Regions from separate parts of the Homo sapiens genome. Here region 2 is linked to region 1. The links are contacts of gene promoters, found by promoter capture Hi-C in blood cells and fetal thymus (Javierre and others, 2016). All regions are on one chromosome and are shown on one strand. The core of a region is centred on a gene start or on the middle of the fragment in contact, and the rest is flanking DNA. Distances in the headings are between cores, read along the strand shown.

Region 1 (5,333 bases), core at 1,002-3,501:
CAGGCATGAGCCACTGTGCCTGGCCAAACCCCACTCACTTCTGAGCATACACGTGGATCCTTCCCTTGTCTCTGACTGCAAGGAGATTTCTGACTTACCCCAGCCAGGGCAGGGAGTTGAGGGAACCAGGTGGGACATGGTAGGACCCTCCCCTCTCAGCCCCAAACCTGGACGGAGGTCATGAGACCCAGCACTAGAGGTTTCTAGTCCCCAACTCCATGGCTCTGCACCTCTCTCCAACCTGGGCTCCTCTTGTGGGAAGCTGGGGTCCTGTGGAGGAGACAGTCCTAGCTTCCTACCCCCTTGCTGGGCGTCCCCACATGGGGAACAGTGTGGGTGTCAGCGTTTCTGTGCTCCTGAGCACATGGCCTGAATTCTTGTCCCATACTTGGAGGCGGCAGATTAATTTAGGGGGCGAGTTCTGGTAGGGAGGCCCCCCTCCAGCAGCAGCATTCTGAGCTCTAGAACCCATGTCTGGGGGATAAGAATATGGAACAAATAACATCAGGTATCCCTCCCAAGTCACTGGGGAAAGACAAGAAGACTCTGGCTTGCCCTCTGGGGAAAAGAAAACCTGAATTCCAGAGCTCACAGCTCCAGGTGGGAGTCAGTGTCAAATCCTCTCTCTTAGACAGATCGGAAATGCCCTTTCCTACAGCCAGATAGTGAGCATGGTAGAGTGATATTTGGGACCCCTCCTGGTGAGGAGGGATGGGTAGGGAGACTCATGAACCCCATAGGCAGGATGGTGGGGACAGTTGTTAGTATACCTGTTTTATTTATTTATTTATGTTTGAGATGGGGTCTTGGTATGTTGCCCAGGCTGGACTCAAACTCCTGGGCTCAAATGATCCTCCCACCTCAGCCTCCCAAAGTATGGTGATTACAGGCATGAGCCACCATGCCCGGCCAGTATACCTGTTTTCCCTATTGGCTAGAAGGTCCTGCATTTTAACTTCTAGCTGGAGGATAGGCAAAAATAATACCTGGGGACCCTCTGAAGTTAATGGGGGAACGCCTGAGTCATCTCCTCCCATGGCTGGGACATGGCGGGTAGTGTCAGCACACTTGTAGCCCTTCCTGCAGGAAGGATCCTGAACTGAATTGCCAGCTTGTGGCTAGGGGCAGACTGGGAGGTAGAGGGACAAAAGCTGGAACCACTTCTGGGGAGCAATGGGAGCCCAGGATGACCTGCCGGGAGGATGCCTTGAGCTCCCCACCCCATGGCTGGGTGTTGAGGTGTCAACAATGAATGATCTGCTCCTGGGAGAAGCTGTGGGGGGACCTGTGGCTCCCCTTCTGGGGAAAGGAATACACTGAGCCACAACCCCATAGCTGGGAGTGTGCAGGCAAACAGAGCCGAGTTCCTGGACGGCGGTCCTCAACCCAGACCCCATAGTTGGAGAGTGGGGGAAACAAGACCTGGGACCCCTCCTGCATCAGGGGCAGAGGAACCCTTAGATTGCCTCCAGGGGAAGGAGCCCCCTGAATTCCCATCTCTTAACTGGAAGGTGGGAGGAGAAATCACTTAAGTCTTTCCTGAGTTCCCAGGGGTGAGGGCAGGTGGACCCCTGGATCACCTCCAGGGAAAGGAGCTTCCAGAACTGCAGACCCCAAGACTGGAGGGGCAAGGGAACAATCGCTGGGACCCTTCCTAGGGTCCTGGGGGAAGAGGGAACCCCTAGGTCCCCCTTTTGAGGACAGGGCCTCCTGAACTCCAGACCCCAGGCGGGAGGTGGGAACAATACCTCGAATCAGGAGGGGAGGGGGTCCTGGATCGCCTCCTAGGGAGGGGGCGTCCTGAGCTCCAGACCCCAGAGCTGGCGGGCGCCCCCCACCCCGCCCGATTGAAGGCTCCCAACCTCCTGGCCCTTTCCCCCCGGGCCCCAGCGGCGGGATGGGTGCGCTAGGCCGGAGCTGGCCGCAGAGTCCCCTCCCCATCGCTCCCGCGACCCCCGCTCGCCTGGGCCAGGGCCGGCGGCGCGCAGGGCGGGGGACGATTAGAGGTCGCCCCGGGCTGCGCCCCGCGCCTGGAGCTCCCCCGCCCGCCCGCCCCCCACCCAGCCCCCCGCCCCGGCCCCAGCCCGCTCGCAGGGACACTCACCCGGCGCCCCTCGCCCCTGCCCGGCCCGCCGCGCCCGCGCCGGCCGCCGGCTCCCCCCGGGCCCGCAGGAAGCCCCCCGCCCGCCAGCCCCGCCGGCGGCCCCCTCGGCCCAGCGGCCCCGCCAGGCGCTCCCGGGGAGCGAGAGGGGCCGGCCGAGGGCCGCAGCGGGAGCTGCTGGGACTTGTAGTTCGCCCGCGCCCGCCGCGGCCGTCGCCATCGCTGCCCCCGCCCCCCGGGCAGGCCTTTGTCCCCGGCCAGGCCACCCCGACCGCGCGGCCGCGCCTTTGTCTGCACCGTGCCCCGCCCGCACGCAGCCCTGGCCCCATCCCTAGTCTCCTCCTGGGCCTGTCTCAGTCCCTCTGTGGCCCTGGCCCTATCTCTTTCTCTCCATCCCTGTCCCTCTCTCTGTCTCTCTCCGTCCCTATCTCTCTATCTCTGTTCATTCTCTGTCTCTGTCCCTGTCTTCCCATCTCTGTTCCTTTCTCTGTGTCTCTGTCCCCATCTCTTTCTCTGTGTTCCAATCTCTTTGCCTCTGTTGCTTTCTCTGCCTCTATCTCTCTCTGTGTCTGTCTGTCTCTCTCTCTCTGTCTCTGCCTCCTGCCCATGTCTCTGACTCTATCTTTGTTCGTAAAACTCTACACATGTTGTTCTTGGAGACTTGCAGCGCACATAGGCACAGCCAAGCCTCTCAGCTCTGCAATCTAAAAACATGTCTATTTTTGCTTAACCTGGCCTTCCTCCAATTTTTCCTTTTTGCATGGTGAAACCCGTCACCCTTTCTGGGTAACACCCGCCAAGGCACAGATTTGGGATATTCCTCCTCTAGTGTTTTCAGCCTCCTACCCAGATGGTGGGTCACCGCTGTCCCTGGAGGCCTCCAAGTGCTAGATGTGAGTGATGGTTTCCGGAGAACCCTACGCCGGGCCGGGAAGGGCTCGGGGCAAACTTTCCTTGGAGACACAGATCCCCGCTGCCAGCCAGGAGAGAGAGTGGAAATCAGCTCCTGATGGCTGGGCCGCGATGTTCTCCACTAAATATAAACAATGGTCACAGAATATAAACAATGATGAGGCAAGGCCACTCTGTGACCATGTCTGAACCAAGATAGAGACATGGGCCCTGTGCAACCACAAAAATGAGTTCTCATCCCCCTCTCCAAGTGAACACAAATGACTGCCACTTCTTACCGACGACAATTCCAACCCAACTGCCATCCTCCCACCTCTGAGACAAAAATCACTGAAATACCTAGTCAGCAAAGCGCTCCCAGGTTCCCGACAATACCACCCTAGTAATTCTCTGTAAAACCACCCAGTATAGGCTGGGTGCGGTAGCTCATGCCTGTAATCCCAGCACTTTGGGAGGCCAAGGCGGGTGGATCTTGAGGTCAGGAGTTTGAGACCAGCCTGGCCAGCATGGTGAAATCCTGTCTCTACTAAAAATACAAAGATTAGCCAGGCGTGGTGGCAGGCACCTGTAATCCCAGCTACTCGGGAGGCTGAGGCAGGAGAATTGCTTGAACCCAGGAGGTGGAGGTTGCAGTGAGCCGAGATTGCACCACTGCACTCCAGCCTGGGCAACAGAGCGAGACTCCGTCTCAAAAACAAAAACAAAACAAAAAATGCAAACCACCAAGTACAAGCCCAAATTCTATAAGATACTCCTCTGTCCCCATGTCCTCCTTATAGAGACACCCTATGGTTCCTTCTTCCTTCCTGAACCTTCTAGATGTGTGTTAGACTCAGCCTGAGACCTGCTTTCCATCTTTCCGCAGAGCCCACAGCAGATCTGAGAGATTGGAGATAACTTCAATTGGATTATGCCCCTGGTTCCTTATCCTGACACTTCCTGGATGATCCCATTACAAATACATGTGATGACATCTGTTGTTTCTTTGGCTCAGAATCTAACAGTACTTTCTTTTCCTTTGTGGGGTCCCCTCCACTACTCCAGATGCACATGTGTCTAACACCCCTTCCCAGTCCCACGTGAGCTGGACTCTAATCAAAGGGCCCCTATCCCCTGGCCACAATAATTAGGTATGGGTTGAGAAGGTGACATTGGAGGTTCTCACTCTACTTCTGGGGTTATGAGCCACAGGGGGCTCATTCTGCCTGCAGCCACTTTCCCCAGTTGTTCAAAAGAACGGTCTGCAGACTGAGGACAATATGCACCAAGATGTACAAGTAAGAGTCAGAGAGATAGCTCTGGCTATATTTGTTGAGCTCCTGGATATAGCCGTACCTGAAGCCACAGAACTCATTCTTTCCTGTACCACAAACCAACAAATGTTCTGGGTGTTTGAGCTGGTTTTAGTGGATGTCTGTTCTTTGCATCCGTGACAGTCTTGACTAATTTAGGAATTATTACCTGGAAAGGAAAGAGTAATAAAAAAAATCTTTTAAAAAAAACCCTAAAATGTGGAACAAACTAAAGAAAGATGGGATAGAGAGCCAGGGTTGCCACATACATGGACTATAAAGTGAATAGGGCACCTTAAGTTATGCAATGCACGACCTGTCTAGATGTATACGGGGCTTTGTAAAAGAGCTTTCCCCCAGAAAACTAGAGTTATGTGGAAGAAAACCAGCGGATTAAATTGTTGCCTGGCCAGGCGCGGTGGCTGACACTTGTAATCCCAGCACTTTGGGAGGCTGAGATGGGCGGCTCACTGAGGTCAGGAGTTTGAGACCATCCTGGCCAACATGGTGAAACCCCATTTCTACTAAAAATACAAAAAGTAGCCGGGCATGGTGGAGGGCACCTGTAATCCTAGCCACTTGGGAGGCTGAGGCAGGAGAATCACTTGAACCCGGGAGGTGGAGATTGCAGTGAGCCGAGATCGTGCCACACTATACTCCAGCCTGGGCAACAGAGCGAGACTCCATCTCAAAAATAAATGAATAATAAATAAATAAATAAATAAATAGTTACTGATTTTTTCATGGAACTCTAACCATGTGTCTCCTAAGGACCAGAATATTGGAATATGGGGAAGCTTTCTTTCTCTTTTAGAGACAGGGTCTCATTGTGTCACCCAGGCTGGAGTGCAGTGGCACAATCATAGCTCACTGCAGCCTTGAACTCCTGGGTTCAAGCCAACCTCCCACCTCAACCTCTTGAGTAGCTGGGACTACAGATGAGTACCTGGGGACTCAGCCTCCTGAGTAGGTGGGACTACAGCCACCATGCCTGGCTATTATTACTATTTTATTTGTAGAGATGGAAC
Region 2 (5,333 bases), core at 1,310-3,809, 290 kb before region 1:
GCAGTGGTGCAATCTCGGCTCACTGCAAGCTCCGCCTCCCGGGTTCATGCCATTCTCCTGCCTCAGCCTCCTGAGTAGCTGGGACTACAGGTGCCTGCCACCATGCCTGGCTAATTTTTTGTATTTTTGGTAGAGACGGGGTTTCACCGTGTTAGCCAGGAAGGTCTTGATCTCCTGACCTCATGATCCACCCGCCTCGGCCTCCCAAAGTGCTGGGATTACAGGCATGAGCCACTGCGCCCGGCCTATTTATTTATTTTTGTTTTTGTTGAGAGAGGGTCTTCTTCTGTCACCCAGGGTGACTGCAGTGGCACAATCATGGTTGAGTGCAGCCTCAGCCTCCTGGGCTCAAGCAATCTTCCCACCTCTGCCTCCTGAGTAGCTGGGGACGTGGGCATGTGCCACCGTGGTCAGCTAATTTTCAAATGTTTTGTAGAGATGGGGCCTTGCTATGTTGCCTAGGCTGGTCTCAGACTCCTGGCCTCAAGTAATCTTCCTCCCCTGGCCTCCCAAGGTACTGGGATTACAGACGTGAGCCACCATGCCCAGCCCCCCATACTTACTAAGCAGTCACTCCACATTCCTGCCTTCCTGCAGCCTTGGAAAACCCTAATCTGTTTTGGCCTCCCAAAGTGCTGGGATTACAGACGTGAGCCACTGTGCCCGGCTAACAAATTGTTTTCTGCCCATGCATTTATGTATTGTATGTGACGCATTTGTGCTAGAATAGCAGAGTTGCAGCAGAGAGCCCTCGAGGCCCAAAAATATTTACTATTTGGCCCTTTTCAAATGTTTGCCAACCTTTGGTCTAGAAGGTTACATTCTGGAGCAAACAGATCATAGACAGATAAAGAAAGGCAGATGCTAAAATCAGCCGGGCGTGGTGGCAGGCACCTGTAGCCCCAGCTACTCGGGAGGCTGAGGCAGGAGAATGGTGTGAACCCGGGAGGTGGAGGTTGCAGTGAGCCGAGATCGCGCTACTGCACTCCACTGGGCGATAGAGCAAGACTCCGTCTCAAAAAAAAAAAAAAAAAAAAAGAAAGAAAGAAAAGCAGATCCTGAATCTGGTCCCCTCCACTCACCCGCGCTTCCCAGTTATGAAAGGCAACACAATCTCCACATCTTCTTTCTTGGGTTTTGGGTTGGTTTGAGTTGGGGCCACGAAGGGAAGTGAAAATGATGTGGTCCTCATTGCTTTCACAGTTTCAAACCCAACTCCAGTGTTTATCAGCTGATGGGCTGTGGGCAGGTGACTCATCTCTGAGCCACTATGCTCATAGGTAAAATGAGAATGAGGGCGGCTGTGTTACCGGATTCTTTGAGGTCATATCCAAAAAACACATAGCACAAAATAAATGCTCATGAGATGCAGAGGCCAGGTGTGGTGGCTTATGCCTGTGATCCCAGCACTTTGTTTTTCTGTTTGTTTTGTTTTGAGACAGAGTCTTGCTCTGTCACCCAGGCTGGGTGCAGTGGCAAGATCTCGGCTCACTGCAAACTCCACCTCCCAGGTTCAAGCGATTCTGCTGCCTCAGGCTCCCAAGTAGCTGGGATTACGGGCTCCCGCCACCAAGCCCGGCTAATTTTTGTATTTTTAGTAGAGATGGGATTTTGCCATGTTGGCCAGGCTGGTCTCGAACTCCTGACCTCGGGTGATCCACCTGCCTCGGCCTCCCAATGTGCTGGGATTACAGGCGTGAGCCGCTGCACCCGGCCACTGTAATCCCAGCACGTTGGGAGGCCAAGGTGGGAGGATCGCTTGAGTCCAGGAGTTCCAGACCAGCCCAGGAAACATAGTGAGACCCTGTCTTTACAGACAAAAAATTAGCTGGGTGTGGTGCCGTGAGCCTGTGGTCCCAGCTGCTCAGGAGCCTGAGGCAGGAGAATCCCTCAAGCCCAGCAGGTTGAGGCTGCAGTGAGCTGAGACTGCCAAAGATTGCGCCACTGCACTCCAGCCCAGGTGACAAAGCGAGACTCGGTCTCAAGAAAAAAAAAAAAGAAAAGATACAAAAAAAAACAAGAATAAACCCTATTGAATTGGAGGTACTGAGGTGAATTCATGGTTTTCAAAATATAAAGATAAATATAGAAATAAGTTTGTGTGTGTGTGTGTGTGTGTGTGTGTGTGTGTGTGTTCCCATTTATCTACTAAGAGGACCTGGGAGCCACATACCCCAGTAACAATGGGCACACTTAACACCCAGATCATTTCTAACTGCCAATCTCCACCTAGCCCAGGGCTTTTTGGAAAAATGAGAGCAGCCTGGGCAACATAGCAAGACCCATTTCTACAAAAAATTTAAAAATTAGCCAGGCGTGGTGGCGTGCTCCTGTAGTCCTAGTTACTTGGGAGGCTGAGGCAGGGTTGGGGGGGACAAAAGCCTAGAACATCTAGTTAGGCCAGGAAGGAAGAAAAAACGATCAGCAAAAAACCAATAGGAATATGTCAAAAGGACCCAGAAGCCAGAGAGAAAAGCTTTCACTGGCCAAATTAAAGATAATTTAAGCATCGAAGGGGAAAAAAAAGAACGTCAGCAAAATGGCAGAGTAAAATTTGCCTTTCTACAAAAGCAATGAAAAAAACTGGCAAAATTTGACAGAATCAACATTTTCACAACTCTGGAAATTAACCAAAAGCTTACAGTAATTTGCAGAGCATTTAATTAAAAAAAAAAACACATAAAAAAACAGCAAGCTCTGTAGAATTTTAACTCACTCTAGTCTTATTCCTGGCTCTCCAGCTCAGAGGGTAGCCTTGAAAAATAACAGCCCACAATCTTGATACCATACGGAAAAGAACAGAGGTGCGGCTCCTTCAAAACCTCATTCAGGATCATTCAAGAAGAGGTGTGTGTGTGTGTGTGTGTGTGTGTGTGTGTGTGTGTGTGTGTGTGTGTTTGAGACAGAGTCTCGCTCTGTCGCCCAGGCTGGAGTGCAGTGGCGTGATCTCGGCTCACTGCAACCTCCTTCTCCTGGGTTCAAGCGATTCTCCTGCCTCAGCCTCCGGAGTAGCTGCGATTACAGGTGCCCGCCACCATGCCTGACTCATTTTTGTGTTTTCAGCAGGGACAGGGTTTCACCATGTTGACCAGGCTAGTCTCAAACTGCTTACCTCAAGTGATCCACCCACCTCGGCCTCCCAAAGTGCCGGGATTACAAGCGTGAGCCGCCGCACCCAGCCAAGAAGAGTCATTTATTGACCTATTTATTGGTACTCTGGAAGACCCTGCTCTGAAAGACCTGACCTCACTTGAACTTGCCGGATGCTAAACATTTCTCCCCAGGGGCTATTTGTTAAATGTTTTAACATTGCAGCTGCCTGTGGCAATACTTAACAGTTGGGGAAATAATAGCCTAACTAAAAATCTTAGAAGGAAAAGCGCCAGGCGCGGTGGTTCACGCCTGTAATCCCAGCACTTTGGGAGGTCGAGGCGGGAGGATCACTTGAGGTCAGGAGATCGAGACCATCCTGGCTAACACGGTGAAACCCCGTCTCTACTGAAAATACAAAAAATTAGCCGGGTGTGGTGGCGGGCGCCTGTAGTCCAAGCCAGGAGAATGGTGTGAACCCAGGAGGCGGAGCTGGCAGTGAGCCGAGATCGCGCCACTGCACTCCAGCCTGAGCCACAGAGCGAGACTCCGTCTCAAAAAAAAAAAAAAAAAAAATCTTAGAAGGAAAAATGAAGACATTAGATGTTCGGAGGGACTTTTGAAAAATTCTGACATATTTCTGGGGATATGGAAGGCCACATGCTTAGGAAAGACCTGAGACAGCCCTAAGCTCACACCGCTGGCCGACTTCGAGGCTCTGTGTAAGCAGGAAGTGAGAGCTAAAGCACAGTTGTAAATTTCCTGGGTGAATGTTGAAGGTGTGTCCCTAATAAGTACACAGAGCTCCCTGGCAAAGACTGGCAGACTTCCGATTCCAGACATTCAAGGAAATCTCTGTCCAACCACTAGCTAACCATGAAGCTAACTGAGCAAAGACTTCAGTAGCCATGACAGAGAATATAGACTTTACAGAAGTAGTTTAGAAAAGTCATTTAACAGGCCTGGCACAGTGGCTCATGCCTGTAATCCCAGCACTTTGGGAGGCTGAGACAGGTGGATCACCTGAGGTCAGGAGTTCGAAACCAGCCTGACCAACATGGTGAAACCCTGTCTCTACTAAAAATACAAAAATTAGCCAGGTGTGGTGGGGTGTGCCTGTAATCCCAGCTACTCAAGAGGCTGAGGCAGGAGAATCGCTTGAACCCAGGAGGCAGAGGTTGCAGTAAGCCGAGATCACGCCATTGCACTCCAGCCTGGGCGACAGAGCGAGACTCCACCTCAAAAAAAACTATTTTTATAGTGACAGGGTCTCACTATGTTGCCCAGGCTGAGCTTGAGCCCCTGGGCTCAAGTGATCCACTGACTTTAGCTTTCCAAAGTGTTGGGATTACAGGCATGAGCCATCACACTCGGCCAGCTGTTGGCATTTAGAATAGTCTTTCTAGCAAGACCAATATTCCAGGACCATAAAAGCTGACTGAATATCTGTTCTAGGATGAGGGATAGGCTCCAGGGATTCCTTTCTTCCCTGGAAGGTTGACTCTTGTGTGTTGGGGAGTGGGGCAGGGGGGTGGGCTGGGGCCAAGGGCCAGGGAGGACAATTTGGTCCTGACTCTCTTATTTGGGGTCTTTATGGATCTGCTCTAACACCAGCCAGTTAGAGCCAGGAGACTGCAAGCTGGGACCTGTGCATTGATCAGGTATGCCTGAGGCCAATGGTGAAGGGAGGATGGACCCTTTGAATCCAGTTATTTGGCTCTCTGGGCTCCTGCCCTGAGGTTCCCTCCAGCCCTGCTGCCCCAGCATCTAAGCCTGGAGTACCAGGGGCTCGAGGGCATGCGTGAGCCATGGACAGGATCCTGGGGAAGTTCCAGCTTAACCTGGGGGCCTCTTCCTTCTGCCCCAGCCACAGCCGGTACTTACTCAGCTCCACCCCCAGGAAGAGACTCCTGGGCTTCTCCTGTCCACCTGTGCTTCCATTGTACATTTGTCACTACAACCTGGAAGAGGCTCTGCCGTTGAGGTTGTCAGTCAGCCTGGAAGTCAATCCTGTCAGTTCGTCTCTGTTGCTGTTCAGTGAGTCAGAGATCTCCACTTGATCATCAGTAAGTTAGACTAGATCTGTCTGTGGATCTTCCAAATTGCCACTTAACCCAGCTCAGCAAGCAGTTAGGCCACCAGGTACGCATTTCGACTTCCATCCCCCACCTGGGAGTCTTTCTCAGCTAGTTACTCTTTGAGCTAGGATGCATGATGGCCTGCAAAGATATCCAAGTCCTGGC

The links. Contacts are between HindIII fragments. The CHiCAGO score rates a contact against its expected background, and 5 or more counts as called.
Region 2: a contact is called between a fragment that was not itself captured here and the fragment with the promoter of ZNF358 in region 1, in 1 of 17 cell types (M1 macrophages). The highest score is 5.7, in M1 macrophages.

The regions. Positions count from the first base shown.
Region 1 is chr19:7,513,021-7,518,353 of GRCh38, reverse strand. ZNF358 (zinc finger protein 358) reads right to left here and starts at 2,251. Exons shown (of 2, transcript NM_018083.5): 1 at 2,105-2,251. LOC105372261 (a long non-coding RNA gene) reads left to right here. Exons shown (of 3, transcript XR_936294.3): 3 at 3,879-4,001. RefSeq lists a silencer at 2,170-2,419. The HindIII fragment of the contact is 10,458 bases long and covers 1-5,104 here.
Region 2 is chr19:7,803,635-7,808,967 of GRCh38, reverse strand. The region is part of intron 1 of LOC124904628 (a long non-coding RNA gene); the gene reads right to left. Among named protein-coding and RNA genes, the nearest start is that of EVI5L, 24 kb to the left of the region's middle. The HindIII fragment of the contact is 161 bases long and covers 2,479-2,639 here.